2 separate regions of the Homo sapiens genome follow, and region 2 is linked to region 1. Evidence: promoter capture Hi-C in human tissues and cell types (Jung and others, 2019). All regions are on one chromosome and are shown on one strand. The core of a region is centred on a gene start or on the middle of the fragment in contact, and the rest is flanking DNA. Distances in the headings are between cores, read along the strand shown. Region 1 holds the start of MISP (mitotic spindle positioning). Region 2 holds the start of WDR18 (WD repeat domain 18).

Evidence for each region. The method cuts DNA at HindIII sites, captures the fragments that hold promoters and counts their contacts. A contact is called where the count stands out against the background at its distance.
Region 2: a contact is called between the fragment with the promoter of WDR18 here and the fragment with the promoter of MISP in region 1, in 8 of the 25 tissues and cell types used here (H1 embryonic stem cells, aorta, dorsolateral prefrontal cortex and 5 more).

The regions. Positions count from the first base shown.
Region 1 is chr19:748,250-753,118 of GRCh38, forward strand. It overlaps MISP (mitotic spindle positioning), which reads left to right and starts at 2,863. Exons shown (of 5, transcript NM_173481.4): 1 at 2,863-2,922. It overlaps PALM (paralemmin), which reads left to right. Exons shown (of 9, transcript NM_002579.3): 9 at 1-80. The HindIII fragment of the contact is 28,409 bases long and covers 1-4,869 here.
Region 2 is chr19:982,280-987,148 of GRCh38, forward strand. WDR18 (WD repeat domain 18) reads left to right here and starts at 2,066. Exons shown (of 10, transcript NM_024100.4): 1 at 2,066-2,284; 2 at 3,586-3,696. The coding sequence starts at 2,075. RefSeq lists silencers at 332-721, 1,886-1,975 and enhancers at 1,660-2,601, 2,026-2,175, 2,206-2,385. The HindIII fragment of the contact is 34,067 bases long and covers 1-4,869 here.

The DNA.
Region 1 (4,869 bases), core at 1,613-4,112:
CCTCTGCTTCTGGTGTGTGACGAGGCCCCCGATGTTCTTGATTTTCCCAGAGAAGCAAATAAACAGCGTGAACAGCCCCAGTTCCTGGAGTTCTTGCCTTTCAACCTGGCGAGGAAGGCGTGGCCAGGCCAGGGGGTGGGGCCTGCCGGCCTTTGAGCCATTAAAGGGAGGCTGAGCAGGGTTGCGGTGTGCTGGCTTCACCTGCCTGCACCCGCTCACCCTGAGCGCCTTGGGGTGGTGGGAGGCGCTGGAATCCCCACTGTGCAGGTAAGGCCTGGCTGTAAGGGGCTGCTGTGGGGGGGCAGGACTGGCTTCCCGGGGGGCCCTCGGGTTCTGCGGCCGCCCCGTCCTGTCCTTTGTTCCTCCCTTTGCTGGGCTCACAGCCCCTGGGTGATGACAGAGGGTCCCCTGGACACCCACAAGCTCTGTAGAGAAGCCGGCCCCTGGGAAATACACAGGAGGCCTGGGGAGGAGGTGTCTGTAGAGACCAGTGTCATGCTCACGGGAAGGTGCTGCCCCGCCAGCCCCACTCTCTCACGCTGTAGTCTTGGAGAAGTCGCTGCCTCCTCTGGGCCTCAGTTTTCCCATCTGTAAAATAAGCCTTCGTGGCCGGGCACGGTGTTTCACACCTGCAATCCTAGTACTTTGGGAGGCCGAGGTGGGCGGATCACAAGGTCAAGAGATCGATACCATCCTGGCCAACATACTGAAACCCTGTCTCTACTAAAAATACAAAAACTTAGCCGGGCGTGGTGGCTCACGCCTGTAATCCTAGCTATTCAGGAGGCTGAGGCAGGAGAATCGCTTGAACCTGGGAGGCGGAGGCTGCAGTGAGCTGAGATCGTGCCACTGCACTCCAACCTGGGCGACAGAGCGAGACTCTGTCTCAAATAAAATAAAATAGGCCTTCGGAGCCCTGAGTGGGAGGCCAGCCTCAGCCTGGGCGTGGGACGTCTCCACAGTGCCCCCAGCTCATGGGCGATCCAGCCTCCACCCTGCTGGGGCCTCAGTTTTCCCCGATGAGGTGGTGAGTGTGGTGGAGAGCACTGCTGAGGGAACTCAGGTTCCAATTCCAGCCTAAACCCCCGCCATTCCTGAGGCGCGATTTTAAGCTTTCCGTACCTCCGTTTCCCTATCTACAAGCCAGGGAGAAAAGGACGTGAAGGGGGTGGCGGGAGGCGGCGGTGGGAGGCGCCGTGAGGCCGCGCACCCTGAGCTTTCACACACCCAGCAGCGTTAGGTGCCACGCTGTCCTTTGGGGGCCCTTTATCCAGATTTGTCCTTAAACACCCCCATCTTGGCCAGGCGCCGTGGCTCGCGCCTGTAATCCCAGCACTTTGGGAGGCTGAGGCGGGGGCATCACCTGAGGTCAGGAGTTCGAGACCAGCCTGGCTAACGTGGCAAAACCCTGTCTCTACTAAAAATACAAAAATAGCTGGGCGTGGTGGCTCATGCCAGTAATCCCAGCTACTAGGGAAGCTGAGGCAGGAGAATTGCTTGAACAGGGGAGGTTGCCGTGAGCCGAGATCGTGCCACTGCACTCCAGCCTGGGTGACAAGAGCGAGACTCCGTCTCAAAAAAAAAACACAAAAAAAGCACCCCCCTCCTGAGCAGCCCTGCTGGATTCGTAGCTGGGGGCCTTTTTACTCGAAGAAGAGACTGAGGTTCAGAGGGGCTCCACAAGCAGCCCCTCTGGCGTAGGTCAGGACAGAGCCCCAGCCTGGGGAACTGAAGTCCCTGCCCCCTCAGCTGTGTTCCCTGCCCTCATAGACGGCGCTAGGCCCAGTGGCCCGACTTCCCCACAGATGCTGGGCTCCCCACAGTCCCAGCAAGGCCTCTGCACCTTGACTAAGAATCCAGGAGGACCATGGGCGCCTGAGGGCCTCTGCGTCCCCATCTCTCGGGGTGGCCTGGGTCTTTTGACGGCCTCGTGCGGTTCTTTTTTTTTTTTTTTTTTTTTTTTTTTTGAGTTGGAGTTTTGCTCTTGTCGCCCAGGCTGGAGTGCAGTGGTGTGATCTCGGCTCACTGCAACCTCCAACTCCTGGGTTCAAGTGATTCTTCTGCCTCAGCCTCCCAAGTAGCTGGGATTATAATAGCGTGCCACCATACCCCGCTAAATTTTGTATTTTTAGTAGAGACGGGGTTTCGCCATGTTGGCCAGGCTGGTCTCGAACTCCTGGCCTCAAGTGATCCGCCCGCCTCGGCCTCCCAAAGTGCTGGGATTACAGGTGTGAGCCACCAAGTCCGGCCCCCTCGTATGGGTTTTTATGTGGATGGGGCCTAGGGAATTCCTCCCAGCAGCCCTGAGGGAGCCCGGGCGTGATGTTCCCCCACGTCCCGGAGGAGAAAACAGGGCTAAGAGAGGTCAGGTGGGATCAGAACCCAGGCCACACCAAACCCCCCCGAGTCTGCCAAACCTGGTTTATGCAAGAAGGGGGCCATCTAGGGGAGTTGCCCCAAGGGGTGGGCTGGGCCAGAAGGCACGGACGGGATTGGGACTCAGCCCCTCCGGCCCCCCAGGAGACACAGGCCACTGTGCACGCTGAGCTGCTGTGTGGCCCTGGACACCTGCTGACCCTCTCTGAGCGGTGCTGAGAGGCGGTGGGAGGGCCAGGCAGCCAAGGGAGGTTTCGGCTGAGTTCTGGCTCCTCGGGGCCACCTGGAGGCCCTGGGGGTGGAGGGGCAGCCGGCAGCGGGCACGGTGCCCGCCCTTGCCCAGCCTGGTATCCTCTTTCTCCCTCCTCCTCCTCTGGACTTTGTTTCCTGATCCCAGGTGGGGCTGGGGGGAGGGGGCACACCTGCCTCCCCTGGGTGGGGCCTCTGTTCCCTGGCAACCTGGCGGGCAGGGCGGAGCTGGGAGGCCTCTGTGCCCATCGAGGAGTCAGAGTGGAGGCTGCAGACTGTGGAGCCGGGAGCCGGCAGGTGAGGCTGGGGGCGCCCCGGGCCGGGCCGGGCGGGGATCCTGTGTGGGGCGGTTGGATCCACATTTGGCGTGGGAGCGTCATGTGTCTGTGGGCGGGGTCTGCTTGCCTGGCGGCACTTGGGATCCAGGGAGGCCCCCTGCCCCACCCCGTCACCCTCGGAGCCTCCCTGAGGCACCTTTCCCTCTGCCCCCGCTAGGTACTCTGGGGCCTCAAGGGCACCCACTGGGAGAGCAGAGAGGCCCTTGTCCCTGAACTCTGCTGGGGCTTTTGAACCCCAAATCCCAGAGCCCTCCAAGGGAGGGGCCGGGTTGGCACCCCCATGGTCAGAGGCCAGAGGGGCCCCTCCATGGTTCTGGGAATTCCAGAGGCTTCTGGAGAGATGCTTATCCGTCCCACCAGGCCCCTGACTGGGAGGCTCTGGGCAGTAAACACCCCCGTGGGGCTGGGGGCTGGTTTGGGGACACGGAGGAGGGGTGGCTGAGTACAGGCGGAAGGAGTCTCAGGCCGGGGCTGGGGACTTGGCCTGGGTCCTCGGGTGGGGGTGAGGTGGTAGCCTGGGATCCCGGGCAGCCAGCAGGGACTCGGCCCAGCGTCTGCCGGTGGAGCTCCGCCCAGGAGCCCAAGGAGCTGAGATGACTCAAGGGTGACTGCAACCCTGAGGGATGGGAAAAAGGAACGGGGCCCTCCCTTCTGCATGGCCTCCTTGTCTGAGTCTCGGCCCCACAAGGGAACCTTTGCCCCTCACATAGAGCCAACTGGCTGATGAGGAAGGAGGTGTGGCACCAGGGTCCATAAACCCAGTTTCATTCTGGTATCAACAGAGTTCAGGGTGAGGCTGGGAGGAGCAACCCAGGGGGCTTCCTGTAGGAGGGGGTGATTTGGAGCAAAGTCTGAAAACTGGCTTCAGACACTTGCTCTGTCATCGCTGTGTGACCTCAGATGAGCAGGTTCTCCTCTCTGGGTCCCAGCTCCCTCTCTCGAAAACCGGAGTCGAAAACGGTTCCAAGGTGTTGCAGGAAGAGTCTCAGGACGCCGAGGTCCTTAGCCACCGCCGGGCCTTGCAGGGGCCATCTTCCGTCCTGGGGCTCTTCCCCCGAGGGCAGCGCCGCTGCCCAAGAATGCCGGCCATGAGAGCCGCCGTGGATCCAGGGGTTTTTTTGGCCGACACAGTGAAACCCCATCTCTACTAAAAATACAAAACTTAGCCGGGCGTGGTGGCGGGCGCCTGTAGTCCCAGCTACTTGGGAGGCTGAGGCAGGAGAATGGTGTGAATCCGGGAGGCAGAGGTTGCAGTGAATGGAGATCGCGCCACTGCACTCCAGCCTGGGCGACAGAGGGAGACTCTATCTCAAAAAAAAAAGCGGGGGGCGGGGGTGGGCACTGAGGCACAGGCAGCAGGGGAGGGGGCCCAGTGGCCTTGAACCCAAGAGCTGGACCCCAGGCCCCACCCGCTGGCTTCAGTGAATCACTGGGGAGGAATGAGCAGAGGAGGATGCGTGCCTTCATCCCCACCCAACCCCGACCCCACTGGGAGACCCGGCACCTGCTCGAGGCTGGGCGGACAGCTCCCTTTCTCCCGGAGTTGACGTCTGATGTGGGTTATAAATCCCGCTGTGTAAACGTCTGTCCACTCACTGGGCAAACATTCCTACACCCGCCCTCCCCGGGGAGCTCCAGGGTGCAGGGCGTGGACCTGCCCAGCCCTTCAGGGCCAGAAGGCACGGTGGAGCCGGTCTGCATTCCGCAATGAGCCCGACCCCCACGTCTGAGCAGCTGGGATGAGTGGTGTTTGCCCAGCCAGTATTTATTAGGCGCCTGCTGTATACCAGACTCTGGGCTGCAGGAAGGGTGCTGACCTGTGGCCACAGCAGGCGAGAGCGAGGCCTGGGCTGACGGTTTCGGGTGGGAGAAGGCAAGGCCTTCCGTGAGCTGGGCAGGCGGCGTC
Region 2 (4,869 bases), core at 816-3,315, 230 kb after region 1:
TGTTTTTTAAATAATGTTGGAGGCCGGCCTCAGTAGCTGACGCCTGTAATCCCAGCACTTTGAGAGGCCGAGACGGGCAGATCACCTGAGGTCAGGAGTTCGAGACCAGCCTGGCCAACGTGGTGAAACTCCGTCTCTACTAAAAATACAAAACTTAGCTGGGCGTGGCGGCTCACACCTGTAATCCCAGCTACTCGGGAGGCTGAGACAGGAGAATCGCTTGAACCCGGGAGGCAGAGGTAGCAGTGAGCCGAGATCGCACCATTGCACTCCAACCTGGGCCACAGAGCAAGACTGTCGCAAAATAAAGAAAGAAAATAAAAATGAGGTTGGAGGAAACTCTGGAGGCACAGCAGGTCCTTGGATTGGACTCCCTCCCTCCCTCCCAGGATAAAATGAAATCCAGGCCTCGTTCACACGGCCCTGCACGGCCCGGCCCCGCTCCGTGGTCCTGCCCCAGGGCCTTCGCACGGGCCTGCCCCGCACACGGTTCTCTGGGGGTCGCTGGCTCCCCGCTCAAACGGCCCCTCCTGCCGACCAGGCGGGTCCCCGGGGCCGCCCTCCCTCTGGCCTGGGCTCGGGGTCGGTGGCTCGCGCCTGCCACCTGGCGGCCAGCGGGGCTGCGGCGCCGCACGCTCTGGCACCAGCCTCCTGCCCCGGCCGTGCCCTCCGCCGGGAGCCGCGGACCAGGAGTCGCACCGCCTCCGGGGACCGCACCCCGCATGCAGCCTCCAGCCCCTGCCTCTTGCTGCTCGAGGGCACACGACCCAGGTCAGCTGCAACCCCCGGGCGGAAATCCCGACTTTTAAATGAATGCTCCCTTTTTATCCCTTTTTAAGGGGTTGGCAACTAATTGCACATTTTAAATCATACTGTTTTTAGGCCGGACGTTGTGGCTGAAGCCTGTAATCCCAGCGGTTTAAGAGGCCAAGGCCTAAGCCCAGGTGTTGGAGACCAGCCTGAGCAACACAGTGAGACCCCCCATCTCTACTAGATATATATTTAGTATAAATAAATAATAGATATATGTTTTTCTTTGAGACAGAGTCTCATTCGCCCAGGCTGGAGTGCCTGGGATCTCGGCTCACTGAGACCTCCGCCTCCCGGGTTCAAGCGATTCTCCTGCCTCAGCCTCCCACCACGCCCGGCTTTTTGTACTTTTTGTAAAGACGGGGTTTCGCCATGTTGGCCAGGGTAGTCTCGAACTCCTGATCTCAGGTAATCCACCCACCTCGGCCTCCCAAAGTGCTGGGATTACAGGCCTGAGCCAAAGCGCCCGGCCTTTTTTTTTTTTTGAATGCCGTTTTCAGACATGGTCCGTGACGGGCAGCCGTGACATGAAGTTAGACCCTGCTTGGCTCGGACAGAACTGGCGACTTGTTTGACCTACACCAAGCTATCCGACTAATAATTTAGATGTTGAGGCCCCTAAAGAGGGGTCAAGGGGGAGGCAGATGTCGACCAATAAGGAAACACTGGGCCGGGCGCGGTGGCTCACGCCTGTAATCCCAGCACTTTGGCAGGCCGAGCTGGGAGGATCACTTGAGCTCAGGAGTTCGAGGCCAGCCTGGGCAGGACAGTGAGACCCTGGCTCTACAAAACTAAATAAATAAGGAAGCAGTGAATTCCAATGTATTCATCGCCAACTAGCCATGTTGCTGGGTGTGCGCTCTCTCTTTTAGGCGCAATGTGTCATTTAGGCCTGTGACGTCGGAACTTTATTATTTGAACATTTAAAAATAAATGAATCCAAGAGCTTGAGTCACTTGGCCAAAAATGCCCAGGAGGAAAAGGCCAAGTCAGGTACCCCGGCTCTAGAGCTACTAACTGATCGCCGGAGACCCTGGGCCTTGGAAGAAGTCGCCTCCCCAGATCTCTAAGCAGGCCGCGCGACCCTCGAGTCTCAGGTAAGCGGGAAATCCCACTTCACAAGAAAGCCCCTCTCTCCGAGGCACGGGCGCATGCGCGGGTCGGCCACCCGCTGGGGCCGCGGGGCCGCCGCTCTGGCCCGCGTGGGGCAGTCGTCCGCGTCTCGCTCATGATGACGCACGTCCGGGGCGGTGGGGAAGGCAAGATGGCGGCGCCCATGGAGGTGGCCGTGTGTACGGACTCGGCGGCCCCGATGTGGAGCTGCATCGTGTGGGAACTTCACTCGGGCGCCAACCTGCTCACCTACCGCGGCGGCCAGGCGGGACCCCGCGGCCTGGCGCTGCTCAATGGCGAGTATCTGCTGGCGGCGCAGCTGGGCAAGAATTACATCAGCGCCTGGGAGCTCCAGCGGAAGGTGCGGCGGTGCGGTCTCGCTGCTGGGGTCATGGGGCGCCCGAGGCTGAAGTCGGGGGATGGGTTGGTGGGGGCCGCGTGCACCCTTAGTCGGAATTGGCGTGGGGAGGGGAGGTGGTCTCCGTTCGGGCGCTCTGCGCATGCGCGGGTCTGGGGGCTTTGGGGAGATACGTGCGACCTGTTAGGCCGCTCTGCGCACGCGCGGGGCTCAGGCCTGAGCTGCTATGGGGGCAGTGGGGGAAAATGGGAGACGCTCCGGGGGGTCCCTTGGGGCAATTGCGCATGCACGAGTTCTTGGAGCGCGAAATTTGATTAAAAGGGGCCTATGAGCTCTGTGGATGTTGTGGTTCTGGAGGAAAAGGGAGAAGGACCAAGGTCTGGGGGAGTCTCCCATGAAGGGGTGGCGCAGGAAACTCATGTTTATTCCTCCAATAAAGCAACAGATACTCACCGTCGCCCACAGTTTCCCCTCTACTCCCAAGCCCAAATGCAGCCAGTCCCTGAAGCTACTCGCTTCCCCCGTGTGCCCGCTGAGATCTCTTGGGACTGGCTCTGTGCTCCAGCATTGCCTGATGGAGTCTACACACAACTCATAAATTTCTCCCATTTTATTTTAGTTTTGAGACAGGGTCTCACTCTGTCGCTGAGGCTGGAGTGCAGTGGTGCGATCTCGGCTCACTGCAGCCTCTGCCTCTAGGGTTCAAGCGATTCTCGGGCCTCAGCCTCCTGAGTAGCTGCAACTACAGGCCCGCACCAACCACCACACCCGGCCCACATTTGTATTTTTTGTAGAGGCAGGGTTTCACCATGTTGGCCAGGCTGGTCTCGAACTCCTGACCTCAAGTGATCTGCCCACCTCAGCCTCCCAAAGTGCTGGGATTACAGCCGTGAGCCACCACGCCCGGCTGAGTTTTCCCATTTTAGAGAGGAGGAAGCTGAGGCTTGGGGTCTTAGGTTGGACATTATGGATAGAAGGATTGGGGCACAAGCCTACTGGGCTCTTGGGCCCCAGTGTCCTTCTGGATCCTCTTTGTTCTGTTCCTGTACTCCTCCCACCCAGGGCCCCTCTGACCCTCAGAGGAAGCACCAACCTCACATCTACCACCTCCAGCCTCGAAGCCTCTTGCAGGGGCGAACACTTCCTTGCTGGACCATGCATTTGCTCAAACCACCCTGCTCCCGACTCCTCTTCCTGGTTCTCTGACTTAGCCATTGCCCAGGCGTCCCCTCCCCTCGCCCTCCACTGCTGTAGTAGCTCCCGTGTCCTGCATGGGGCTCACGAGGCTGACTGTGCATCCTTAGGACCAGCTCCAGCAGAAGATCATGTGCCCCGGGCCTGTCACCTGTCTGACTGCATCACCCAATGGTCTCTACGTCCTGGCAGGAGTTGCAGAAAGCATCCACCTGTGGGAGGTAAGAGGAGCAAAGCGTGAGCGTTTCCCACAGGACATCTCAGCCCATCTGAGCTTTGCCTGCAGGGCACCAGGGAACAACCATGCGGCCTGGGGCCCTGGGATGGGTGACTGCTCAGGGGTTATAGCCTAAGCTTCACCCTGCTGCCTCCTTTCTCCAGGTCCCCTCGAGACTTGCGAATCCCAGACCAGCCCTAATCCTGCCTTGAGTGCTTGGATAGAGCCCGGTGCAGCCCAGTCCCCGGCACTCACACACCGCAGCATCTTCCAGGGCTAGCGGGCATCTCTTCCACGCAGGCGGCAGCGCCTGGCACTTGTGACTTGAAAGTTATAAAGGGCGGCCGGGCGCAGTGGCTCATGCCGGTAGTCAATGCAACCTCTGCCTCCCAGGTTCAAGCAATCCTCCTGTCTCAGTCTCCTGAGTAGCTGGGATTCCAGGCGCCCACCACCACACCTGGCTAATTTGTTTGTATTTAGTAGAGAAGGGCTTCACAATGTTGGTCAGGCTGGTCTCCAACTCCTGACCTCAGGTGATCCACCCGCCTCGGCCCCCCAGAGTAGTGGGATTACAGGCGTGAGCCACCGCGCCCGGCCAGTGCCTCCTTTTTCTTACCGCTGGACCAACCAGGTGACAGCAACTCCTAGACACACTCACAGCCCGGATCCTGCCATGCTCTCACTGCGAGACAGAGTGAACTGTTCAGGCTTTGCATTTAGGCCAGCTTCTCAGCTCTGCCCTGGTGAGGGGAAGCAGCCCTGGATGATGTGTGAGTGAGTGGGCACAGAGATGTGCCAGGGAGACTTCATTCACAAAGTCAGGCCTCTTGGAGTTTGGCCCATACCGTAGCTGTGGCGTTAGATCACCGGCTGTGTTGTCACAAATGGTCCATTATATTTCGGGGGAGACCTGCCCTCAACCCCACATAGAGCAGGGCAGACAGTACAAGATCTGGGGCCAGAAGACCCAAAGGTAACCATGTTTCTGCCCTTCCTGACCTTGTCCTTGCTTCCCTCAGTGGGCTGCTCAGAGAACTGAGAGGGCTGGGTGGGCATGAGCATTCTCGGAGAGATAAAAAAGCCACCAGGGGATGGGCATGGCGGCTCATGCCTGGAATCCCAGCACTTTGGGAGGCTGAGACGGGCAGATCACTTGAGGCCAGGAGTTCAAGACTAG